2 separate regions of the Homo sapiens genome follow, and region 1 is linked to region 2. Evidence: promoter capture Hi-C in human tissues and cell types (Jung and others, 2019). All regions are on one chromosome and are shown on one strand. The core of a region is centred on a gene start or on the middle of the fragment in contact, and the rest is flanking DNA. Distances in the headings are between cores, read along the strand shown. Region 1 overlaps PIK3CB (phosphatidylinositol-4,5-bisphosphate 3-kinase catalytic subunit beta). Region 2 holds the start of MRAS (muscle RAS oncogene homolog).

The links. Contacts are between HindIII fragments. The study calls those that stand out against the background at their distance.
Region 1: a contact is called between a fragment that was not itself captured here and the fragment with the promoter of MRAS in region 2, in 2 of the 25 tissues and cell types used here (liver and thymus).

Annotation. Positions count from the first base shown.
Region 1 is chr3:138,666,699-138,673,241 of GRCh38, forward strand. The region is part of intron 19 of PIK3CB (phosphatidylinositol-4,5-bisphosphate 3-kinase catalytic subunit beta); the gene reads right to left. Among named protein-coding and RNA genes, the nearest start is that of FAIM, 61 kb to the left of the region's middle. The HindIII fragment of the contact is 4,333 bases long and covers 190-4,522 here.
Region 2 is chr3:138,346,597-138,352,636 of GRCh38, forward strand. It overlaps MRAS (muscle RAS oncogene homolog), which reads left to right and starts at 1,983. Exons shown (of 6, transcript NM_001085049.3): 1 at 1,983-2,171. RefSeq lists an enhancer at 1,495-2,450. The HindIII fragment of the contact is 6,288 bases long and covers 1-4,234 here.

The sequences.
Region 1 (6,543 bases), core at 1,106-3,605, 320 kb after region 2:
AGAAAATACAATGGATGGAATTCATGCACTCAGTAAATACTCGGGTACAGCTAACCAAGCATTGTGTTAGATCCTGGTGATACAGAAATAAGCAACAAACAAACAAGAAAACCAGAGCAGCAGTCCCTACACTCACTGAGCAAATGTACAATGTGCATGTGTGATCTCTGTATAAGGAAGAAGTGCCAGGAGAACATGGCAGGAGTCAAAAAAGACTTCCTGGCCGGGTGCGGTGGCTCACACCTGTAATCCCAGCACTTTGGGAGACCAACGTGGGTGGATCACAAGGTCAGGAGATCACGACCAGGTCAGCAGATCTGGCCAACATGGTGAAACCCTGTCTCTACTAAAAATACAAAAATTAGCTGGACGTGGTGGTGTGCTCCTATAGTCCCAGCTACTTGGGGGGCTGAGGCAGGAGAATCGCTTGAACCCAGGAGGCGGAGGTTGCAGTAAGCCGAGATTGCGCCACTGCACTCCAGCCTGGCGACAGAGCGAGACTCTGTCTCAAAAAAAAAAAAAAAAAAAAAAAGACTTCCATGTGGAGGAATGACAGCAGGGCTGGAGGAGAGCACAAGGGGGAGCACAACAGAAAGATGAGGAAGACACAGTAAGTGGTGAAAAGACCATGCAGGTTCCTGTTGGCCATGTAAGGACTTCTGTCATACTCCTAAAAGCACTGAGAAAGCTTCCGAAGGACTTTATGAGCGACAAAGAGAGGCTGTGTGTGTGTTGTGGGGAGGAGGGAGTATATGAGTGTGTTAGCATGTATCACAATCAGATAGTTTCTAAAATTAAACAGTTTCTAAAAGTCCTTCAAAAAAATTGAATTATTTTATGCTTTTTTATTTATTTTTATTTTATTTATTTATTTATTTTTTGAGACAGAGTCTCGCTCTGTCGCCCAGGCTGGAGTGCAGTGGCGCAATCTCGGCTCACTGCAAGCTCCACCTCCCGGGTTCACGTCATTATCCTGCCTCAGCCTCCCGAGTAGCTGGGACTACAGGCGCCTGCCACCATGTCTGGCTAATTTTTTTTTTTGTATTTTTAGTAGAGACGGGGTATGCTTTTTTAAAAGCACTTTTCATCCGGGCACGGTGGCTCATGCCTGTAATCCCAGCACTTTGGGTGGCCGAGGCAGGTGGATCACCTGAGATCAGGGGTTCGAGACCAGCCTGGCCAACAAGCTGAAACCCTGTGTCTACTAAAAATACAAAAAATTAGCCAGGCATGGTGGCAGGCACCTGTAATCCCAGCTACTCAGGAGGCTGAGGCAGGAGAATTGCTTGAACCCAGGAGGCGGAGGTTACAGCGAGCTGAGATTGCACCATTGCACTCCAGCCTGGGCAATAAGAGCAAAACTCCATCTCAGAAAAAAATAATAATAAAAGCACTTTTCTAGTTCTAGCAAAATGAGGTTGGGGGCAGAACTGTCAAAATACAAAATAAGAGAATGAAGCATTCTCCTAATGCAGCATTAATGTTTTTAATGAGACCCCTTATTCTTATCATGACATAACACATGTAAAGCAAACACTGCCAGGTTAAAGTGCACTTTCTCACTTTCCTGCATCTCCTCTCACTCCAGTTGCAGCCAAGGTAGGCAGAAGTCCAATAACTTCCTTTTCAAAAGCAGGCAACGATGAAAGCTTTCAGTGCCTTGAGGGTAGAATGTTCACAATGAGAAGGAAAAAACATCCTTCTCAGAGAGTTTGACAGAAGTCAAGCTGGGGACAAACTCTTGGAGCCCTAATCATCTCACCTAGGTACCCTCTGCACTCAACTTCTACACTTCTTACAAAGGCCAAGACTACAATTTCAGTAATGTTTACCCTCCTTTCTCAGACTCTCTGACTGAAGTAGCAATCTGTTACCTTTCACACTAAATCAAACATTTAAAAATGAAATAAATTCTACAACACGGGGATGGCAGCTCCATATCCTTACTCTAAACAGGTATATAGCAAGTTATCTGGCTTTAAAAATTTGTTTTACAACTTGTATATATTCATGGGGTAGAAGTACAATTTTGCTACATTGATATATTGCACTGTGGTGAAGTCAGGGCCTTCAGTGCATCCATCACTGTAGCAACACACATTGTACTCACCAAGCAACCTGCCATCAACCACCCATGCCATCCCTCTAAGTCCCCACTACCCATCAACCCACACCCTGCTTCTATGTGTATATATTATTTAGCTTCTACTTATGAGTGATATTATGTGGTATTTATCTTTCTTATCTCTGATTCTGACTCTGACACAATGACCAAAGTCTGAGTAGTACCTTAGCCATGGCTTCCAAAGGAGAAAAGTTTAAATCTTTTACCTAATGCTTGCATTATTTCCACCTTCTTCCTCCAACCCTCTGAGATGCTGACACCACTATCATTAAATAACTTTTGTATAGGTCTCTTAAAAGGGAAGTAGGCCAGGTGCGGTGGCTCACGCCTGTAATCCTAGCACTTTGGGAGGCCAAGGTGGGCGGACTGCTTGAGTCAAGGAGTTTAAGACCAGCCTGGGCAACATGGTGAAACTTTGTCTCTACAAAAAGTAAAAAAATTAGCCAGGTGTGATGACAGGTGCCTGTGGCAGCTACTCAGGAGGCTGAGATGGAAGATCACCTGAGCCCAAGGAGTTGAGGTTGCGGTGAACCATGATTGTGCTACTGCACTCCAGCTGGGGTGATACAGTGAGACCCTGTTTCAAAAAAAAAAAAAAAAAAAGGGGGGGGGGATGTAAAATGTAAACTCCATTAGTGTAATTCAGATATGAAGTCTTAATGGAGGCAACTGTCAAAAAATTGATTTCACATGTATTTGTTGGGGTAGAGTGGGGGTGTGCAGAGGACTGGCAAATCTACCCACGGCCAGATAGGTTTATATGTAGCCAGCCTATAAGATTTGCTTATTACTTCTTCACCAAAGGAGGTCAGGGAGTCCTAACACATCAATGTCTTATAAATGATCTAAGCTGACATGAAAGGTATCAAAAGAGTATTTTGGAACGTCATAGAAAAATGAAAATGAGCATTATGTATTTTCATTCATGCAAACATGGCACTGTTACAAGTACTAAAACAGTAATGTACAGAAGGTACCTCAAGATTTGGGATTGACCTTAAAAGAGTGTGTGCTACATGACCCACTTTAACCTAAACAGCTGGCCGAAAGAAAAAACAAACAAAATAGAAACATTGGAGCACATATATTTATAGAAACAGTAAAAAAGGTTTGGTGAGAAAAAGGTACCAGTTTGGAAATGAACTTAAAAAAAAATTAAAGTCCTTCATTTTTTAAAAACATGGGGTCAAAGTACAAAAAGTCAGCAAAGATCTCACTGGACAGACAAGTTCCTTTTTCTTCGCACAATGCTTCCCATCAGCTAGACACTAGGTTTATTTCCAGCACTCCCACATGTGGGTGCCTCCCATTGTCTGAGGTCACAATGAACTTCATTTGATGCTAAATGTGCTTTACATTTAGATAAATAAAATCAAAACTAAGAGAGAATAACTTGGTTGGGGTTTTCAATTAGGCTGATGGAACTAAGAATGCCAGGAAACAGTCTTTAGCTTAGCTTTTCATAACTAAATGAAGCTCATGATATGGCCTGAATCTACTAATTAGCAAAGGAGACCACTGTGTAGCTTCTGTGCTAACCTTGGAAAGAACAAATGAGTTACTAAACTTCAGCTTAAAGTTTCCCTCCTTTTTTGTGGGATCAGTCAAGTAAAAACATATTCCTGGGGGCTTACTTTATATAGGAGGAGTTGGTAAACTCTTCCCAGAATGAGCCAGATAATAAATATTTTAGGCACTACAGACTAAACACTCAACTCTGCAGTTGCAGCACAAAAGCAGCCATACATAATATGTAACCAAGTGGCTGTGTGCCAATAAAATTTCATTTACAAAAACAGGTAGCCCAGGTCCAACTGGGTTTATGGTCCTCAAGCAGACAGTTTATTCTAATGACCTATTCCTCTTATCTATGCAGTATACCTTATGAGTGTTTGAAAAACTAGCTACCTATTCAAAGCTACTAATTCTATTTTTACACAGCTGCATTAGAAATTCCTCCTAATTTAAAAGAAAAAAATCTGTCACCTGTAGTAGCCACAGTGTCCTTTTTAGATGAATTATGATCTCTTTTCTTTATTCTAATCACAGCTACAATCCCAAATTGCTCTTTCTACCTTTACACTACTGGAAAGTGTAACTTGGAAAAACCTAAAAATAAAAAATTATTTCTTTTTTTAAAAAAAAGGAAATTTAGGTATTTTAGGCACCATTATACTCTGATAAACAAAGAGTAGTACTAGACATGTCTTACCACATTATTTTCTCACTTAGCCAGACTGGTAAAATAATAAACAGGCATTAATTTAGAGTCTGACAGTCCTGGATTTGAATTTAGCTCTGCCATTTAATATTTCTGTAACCTTTGTTTAAAACCTCTAGCATTTTAATTTTTAATGTGTTAAAAAGAAATAACATAGCCCCATAGATATGTAAGCCTATACGATATTACTTACGAGAAGAACTTAATACAATGCCTGGTTCAGTCAATAAACAGCAAGGGTTGCAAGTTTTAAAAATATATATACACATATGTTTCATAATAACAGACTATAACTGAAACTTAAGAAATTAATCAGGAGATATTATAATCTTGCAGGAACAAAGTCGATCACACGTCTAACCGTTTCCAGCAACCTTGTAGACTAAGGTTGTTGCAGATACTAAATCACATTAAAAAAATGATGAAGTCCAAAGGTTTTATAAATAGGTGTGGTTAAAAAAGAAAGAAAAAAAGACCTCTAGGTTCCAAAAATAGAGATTTCTCACAGCAGTGGCTCAGGAAGTTAGACTTGGCTGACATTTCAATGCCCACCAAAAACAGTCACGGACTTAGGCCCATGAGGTAGGATCTGGACCCGACAAAGAACTGTTAGGAATAACACTCAAAATCCTAAGGAAACTGAACACTTGAACAAAGGATTCTTAGCAAAGCAATTTTACTTCTGCGTAGAGGGGTGCCTCCTTGGCCAGTTGCCATGAGAGCACACCTGAACAAAGGGGCACGACAGCCTTTATTCCTGACGCAAGTCCTGCCTCTGCATTCTTTCCCCATTGGCTGGGGTTGGGTTGTACAATCTAAACTAATCCTGGTTGGCTAAACATCTGAATTTTTTTAGATAGGGTGGGCACATGAAGAAAAAGTGGAGAGAAAGGGGAAGGGGTGTCTGTAATGAGCTAGAAAGTTAGTCCTCTTTCTAAATAAGGAAAGGAATGTGAGCTGGTACTGATAACGCTTGGTACTGTGGTGTGCCTGGGGATCTAACAAAGGCAAAAAGGAAAAAAAAGGAGAAAAAGGAGAAAAAAAGTGGGGGGGTTCTATAAATTAACGAACAAAAGATTGATCAGATTATTTGAAGAGGAACCTCATCATATCCCACACTACACAAAACTGAGGTCTGGGAGGACTGGAACTCGAAATATCTTTTCATTGATCAGATGATGTGGCATGAAAGTTTCCCATCTACCCCAGAAACTGGGTAGGCAAGAAAAAAAAAAAGTTTCATGTAAGTGCAAAACTTCAAGCCTTCCCACACTCTCTTATGAGATCTAAATATAAACTATCTATGAGGTGTGATGGTCTGAAGGCAGGGAGTTAACATAAAAACTGGCTGATTGTGTGTACAGGCCTTTGGCAACAGCTCAAACAAAATACAAACTCATTTTTAGAGATCCATTCACAACCCAGGGAGCAAAGGACCTTTACAGAAAACATAATTATCCATCAATAATGAATTCAAAACTGAGTATTATTAACTATATAAGGAAATGAATAAAGTCACGCAGATAAATGAAAAAGTAATATCCCAAGAACTAAAAAAGAACAATCTGAAAGAGACTTTAGGCTGGGCGTGGTGGCTCACGCCTGTAATCCCAGCACTTTGACCTGGGAGATGGAGCCAGGCGGATCACCTGAGGTCAACAGTTCAAGACCAGCCTGGCCAACATGGTGAAACCCTGCCTCTACTAAAAATACAAAAATTAGCCGGGCGTGGTGGTGGGTTCCTGTAATCCCAGCTACTGGGGAGGCTGAGGCAGGAGAATCGCTTGAACCTGGGAGGTGGAGATTGCAGTTAGCCAAGATCGTGCCACTGCACTCCAGCCTGGGTGACAGAGTGAGACTCCGTTGAAAAAAAAAAAAAAAAAAAAGAGAGAGAGAGAAAGAGATGAAAAAGAATAGAAAGTCTAAGCAGAAAAAAAATACAATACAGGAGAGTAAACATTGTTGCAGAGATAATGAACTGGAAAAGAATAGGAAATTACTAAGAAAGTCACATAAAGATATGAAAAGACTCAGCCTGGTCTCAACGCCAGAGCACACAGAGACTTGAGTAAAACTGTTATAATGATAAGATATGAAAAGATAGAAAATATGGAAGGTTAAGAGACATAAAGGAGAGAACAGGAAAGTTTAATATAAATCTACTAGAGCTGCAGAAAAAGACAATGAGAGTGGGAGA
Region 2 (6,040 bases), core at 733-3,232:
GGGGGACACTTGGGGTCTACAGGGTCTTTGGAGCAGCAGGTGGGAGTGGAGGCACAGGGGGTGCACAGCAGCTCCCACCAAATGGCTGCATGGGTGGCTGGGATGCCAAAGGAAGCCTGCATGGGATTAAGAGCCTCAGCATGGCAGGCAGAGCCAGCAGCACTGTGAGGCTCCCTTAGGCCTGGGGCAAACCTGAGAAGGGAGTGGGTTCCCTGGACATGTAAAGCTGGTTCTAAGTCATTGAGGTCCACCCAGAAAAAGAATGTCCTCAGAAATGATGCTGACAATCAAAACCACAATGAAATGCCATTTCGCCCCCAATAGGATGACTAGAATAAAAAAAGACACACAATTACAAGTGTTTGCAAAGATGTGGAGATATTGGAACCCTCATATGTTGTTGGTGGGAATGTAAAATGGTGCAGCTGCTTTGGAAAACAGTTTGGCAGTTCCCCCAAAAGTTAAACATGGAGTTAACATATGATCCAGGAATTCCACTCTTAGGTATATACCCAAGAGAAAGAAAAGCATATGTTCATACAAAGACTTGTACATGAATATTCATAGCAGCTTTATTCACAGTAGCCCCAAAGCAGAAAACTAAATATCCATCAAGTGATGCAGGGATAAACAAAACGTATAGACATACAGTGAAATATTACTCAGTCATGAAAAGGAATGAAGTACTGCTACATGTTACAACATGAATAGATCATTAAACATTGGTTACTGAAAGAAGCTAGTCATAGTCACAAAAGGCCACATGTTGTATGATTCCGTTTATAGAAAATGTCCTGAATAGGGAAATCCATAGAGATTGAAAGTAGATTAGTGGTTCCCAGAGGCGGAGGAAAGGGGTGAATGAGGAGTGACTGCTAACGGGTAGTTCTTTTTGTGAGGGGCAGGGGAGGGGAGTGGGAAGTGGTGAAAATGTTCTGGAATTAGCTCATGGTGATGGTTGCAAAACTTTGTGAATATGCTAAACACCACTGAATCGTACACTTTTTTTTTTTTGAGACAGCGTCTCACTCTGTTGCCCAGGCTAGAGTGCAGTAGCGCAATCTCGGCTCACTACAACCTCTGCCTCCCGGGTTCACGTGATTCTCCTGCCTCAGCCTCCCGAGTAGATGAGATCACAGGCACGTGCCGCCATGCCGGGTTGACTTTTGTATTTTTAGTAGAGACGGGGTTTCACCATGTTGCCTAGGCTGGTCTTGAACTCCTGACCTCAGGCGATTCACCCGCCTCGGCCTCCCAAAGTGTTAGGATTACAGGCGTGAGCCACCGCGCCCGGCTTGAATTGTACACTTCAAAAGGTGGAATTTTATGGTGTTGAATTATATCTTTATTTTTTTAACGGGGGGAAAATGACGCCGCTGGAGAGGAGTTAGCGGAACTGAAACAATGAAATGGTGCGCGAGTGTCGCCTGTCCCCGTCGCATCCATCCCAACGAAGTTTGGGCCCTGGAACGGTGCACCCAGAAGGCCTGCGGGGAGAGACGCTGGGGCATGATCTGGAAGAAAGACGTCTCAGGATTCGAAGGGAATGCAGCTAAGGTGGCGGCGGAGGTTCGCCTAGGACTGGGGAGGCGTCCCTAGGCTCAGAAGTTGGCCCGGCCGGAGCGGAGATTTAAAGGTTGGAGCGCAGAGGCTCTTAAAGAGGCCGAGTCGAATTCCCACTCGGCGTCCACCTTAAAGCCAGCTCCCCGGCACCACGGATCTGACCCGGGTAAGTGCTGGGCCGCGGGAGAGGCTGCGGCGCCGACCCCAGCCCCTGGCGCTCTAGCGCGCCCTGCCGGGCCCAGGGGACTCGGCGCGGGTGGGCTGGACTTCGTAGGCGCGCGTCCTGGGGGCCGGGGTGCACGCGGGGGCGACAGGGTCGAGGCACCCGGCCCGGGCTCCCCACTGGCGCGCCCGCAGCGGCGCTCTATTTTTAGCAGGCGCTGTGGCAATATAAGGAATGCGCGGCGCGCTAGGCGCTCGGGGCGCACGCTGGCGGCGCGGTCGCTTTAAGGAGGCGCCGGGGCGGGGACGGACCGGAGTGGCCGGCTGGCGGGGAGCCGTCAGTCCGGCGGCCGCGGGGCCCGGCGGGCGCGACGCTGCCTCCTCACCGGCGCAGGCTAGGAGGGGGCGGCCTGAGTGCCGTAGCCGAGCCGGGGCTGGAGCGCGCGGTGAGTGGTCGGGCGGCCTTGGAGGGGAGGGGGCCCGGCCGCGCCGCCTCTCGCCCCGGCCGTCGCTTTGTTCCGGGGCGGGAGGTGTGGCCGCCCTCCGGGCTCGGCCGCGCTCTCCGCTTGCGGGGTGCGCCCTGGGACCGGCTGTGCGTGGCGTTTTGCCCCCATCGCGGGCTCCCGCGTAACGGTGTGCGTTCGTGAAATCGGCCACGACCAAGACCCCAGTGGGGAGGGCCTGCGCGCCGCTCAGAGAGACCCTTTCATGGTAATTACAGTTCCTTGGCTGCCTGGGCGAGAACCCGGTGGATAGATGGGCGGCAGGACGGGGCGGCGGGGGATGGGTGGGTGGGTGGGGGACTCTTTACCCCCCCGCCTTAAGATGGCGTTAACGAGGGGAGGGATCCGCCAGGGAGTTGACAAATTCATCTGAATAATAAAACGCAGCCTGCTTCATAAACAACCCTTCACTGCCCCCGGAGGTTTGGGGAGCTGGAGCTGTGGTCACAACTAGGGCCTGGGCTCATGCATTGAACTGATCTGGCTGAGGCATCAGACACGGTGCCAGTCCTGCCCTGCGGGGAAGACAAGAGCACAAAGTGACAAGCCAGTGTGGTAAGTGCTGAGATTCGGTAAGCCCAGGGGTTGTGGGAGCCCCTAGGGGTCCCTACTGCAGAGTGGGAGGTGAGAGAAGGCCGCCTAGAGGAGTTAATGTCTGGCTGGCCGCAGCGTATACACTGGACACCCAGTTAGACTCTGGCTAGAGCTGAGGTCTGTTCTGGCCTGGGGCAAAGTGGAGTCTGGAGAGGTGGACAGAGTCCATCAAGGCCACTGGGGCCTTGATCATAGAGCTCTGCCATTGCCCCTACTCCCCAATGGCCCCTGATGGTGTGGAACCTCCCTGGCCTTGCTCCTCTAGGACTCACTCTGTCCTGGACCTGACCAGAGAGGGTGGCTGACAAGGCTCGGAATCGTGGCCTCCAGAGGTTTGTCTGGCAGCAGAAGTAAGATGGAGATATGACTTTAAGAGCTCTGAAACTCCACTGTAATAACAGCAACCAACAGGGCTTCCAAAGACCAGGCACTTGAAGTGGATTTGCTCATCATTTGACAAGACACCTCTTGACAAGACACCTCCAGAAGGATTTTGTTTATTGTAAAGGATGGAGGAACTGGGGTGAAAAAGAGCCAACAGCTTGCCCAAGATCATATCTGAAGTCCATGCTTTTGGCCACGTGGCTGTCCTGGGCTTCGGAAGGCTCTGGTGCAGCCTGTGTTAGAGTTTTGTAATATATTGTTTTATAATTATTCACTATAGACATTCACTGGTGGGTTGAAGTGTGAGGCAGTGAGCTGTGGGTATTAATAACTGACTCGTGTCAGAAGCTTAGCAGTGAACAAAGCACTTTCTCGGATACGGTTCTTAGAGCTTCTCCTGCTTCTTTTCCCGGGGAAGAAACTTGAGCTGCTAACATTTTGTAAACCTCCTAATTTCCTGTAAATCACATGTCCCTGCTGAGTGGGGCTGAAAATGTTTCGGGCAATGGTTTTCACCCTTAGGTCTGTTCACACTGCCCAGCAGCCAGTTAGCTTCTCTCTGTAGTTTATGGTGTAGTTTGTCCTTTTTCTGCCGGGGTGGGAGGCATGGGGCTTTCATGCTCTGGGGTTTTTGAGGTCTGCCAGCCTCTGGGGAGGGAGGTGTTGGGCAAGCCTCGTGCTCTGGTGGAAACTGACCCCCTAGATGTGACCTCGGCATTTCCTAAAGCTGGGGGCGGGACTGGGGTAGGCGGTAGTCAAGGCCCTTTGGTGAAGCAAGCGATTGTCTCCAGCGTTGTCAGCTTCGCTCCTCCATAAGACAGTTGCTAATTTCCACCTCTGTTTTCACCTACATAAGACACTTTATGACAGGTTTAACTTTTATGTTATTATTAGCTCTAGCCACTGGTATTTCATACTCAGTTCGTCTGAGCTACTTATAAAGTGACAAGTCCAGCCAGGGCAACATGGTGAAACTCCGTCTCTACAAAAATTAGCTGGGCCTGGTGGCATGCACCTGTAGTCTTAGCTACTTGGGAGGCTGAGGTGGGAGGATTGCTTAAGCCCAGAAGGCAGAGGTTGGAGTGAGCCATGATCACGCCACTGCACTCCAGCTTGGGTGACAGAGCAAGACCCTGTCTCAAAAAAAAAAAAAAAAAAAAAAGTGACAAGTCAGTTACCCTTGGGGTTGGTTTGGTTCCTAAGCTCTAGTGATCACCTGGAACCAGGAATGACTATTGGCCTCTGATAAATTAGGCTCCTGGGATGACTGGTCCTAACCTCAGTCAGAATCACATGTTGACCAGCCTCCTGGATCTAGTGAGTTCTCAGGGAAATGTGGCTTCCATAATATATTTCACATCAGATTTAACCATTGTAATCTGTTCTGCCAATGAAATGCCCCCAAACAGAGTGTGTCTCCCTGAAAGCAATTGAAAAACATACCTGCTCATGAGCATTGTGTAGTTTGTACAAGCATACTCATGTGAACTGAATGGGAATGCATTCTTGTGCAATGCTGGAATGTTCTTAAGTGTCCAGAGGATGTGCATTGAGTTCCAGAGGCTCTGTACCTGCCAGGCCCTGGGCAGGCATAGAAGGTACAGTCACCTTTATCTGGAGACAGGTAAAAAAGGAGCTGGAGGAGTTCCCTGAGACCTGGGACACCTGGCAGGTACCCATTGTCTAGGGACTCAGCAGAGAATTCAAGCTTTAAGAGGAATTTTCTTGCTGGACTCTGAGTCCCTGTCAGCCCTCCTAAGTCTTAGATCATGCCTCTGAGCCCTGTAGTACTGAATCAATGGGGATGCTTTGGCTGCAAGTAACAAAACCCAAATAACAGTAAGTAAGATTAAGCAGAGCTCAGATCTCCCAAAGATGCTCTCTGCTCTTGGAAGGTCTCTGTACACAGGAATGGGATATCAGTGCCACTTCCAGCAAGTTCCTGCATGGGACAGGTAGCCATAAAGGCTGAGTGTCTGGAGTTCAGAGTAATAGGTTTTGTCTTCTTGAGTCACAGCCTCTTTAATATGTTGATGAGAAGCCCAGGGAACGTTGATGTACAAAGTTGGACATATAATTCAGGGGATTCATGGATCTCTGAAAACCAGCCCTGGATCCCAGTTTAGCCATCTCTGATCTAAAGGCACGTGACTTCTCTAATGTTCATGGCAGACCTATTCTGTAAGCCCATTGTGCAGCCAAGTCAGCATGCCATTCCAGTGCAGTGTGAGAGGGCAGAGATGGGGGCCAAGAGTACAAATAGAGTGGGACAGTTGTCATTGCCCAGCCTGTGAGTTGAAGTCTGTGCAGTCAGCCAGTGGGTCTGACAAAGAGGGCAGTGCTGGCACTGCCTCATGCTTCCGCAGAGGTGATGAGGTTCAGGCTGAGGTGGAGACCACGCTGCACTCGCCATGCATTCAATGGTGCCCCATCTCTTGTTCTCTAGGAAGCATTCCCGCTACCTGTGTGATGCAGTTGGTTCCACCTATTCCCAGAGACTCCACCCTGGCCCTCCTTGCCCTGGCCCCCAGCACTGAGCCCCTAGGGCCATTTAGCTGGCCAGCATGATCTAAGACAGCTTTCTGCAGGCATTCCTCTTGTAGGAGTCATGAAGCAGCAATGTGTATTTTGCTTCTTTTTGTTGTTGTTATATTAAAAAATATTTTTATATTCTAGTCCAATCCTTATTATTTGATTTTTTTGGTTATATGTTATATATAAAAATGTATTTTTTGTATTTTGCTTCTTAATGTCCCTATCATTGTCTTTAATATTCTTGGTAGCTTCACTAGGTGGGGACTGCTGCATGACAATGTGGGTCATCACCGGTTGCT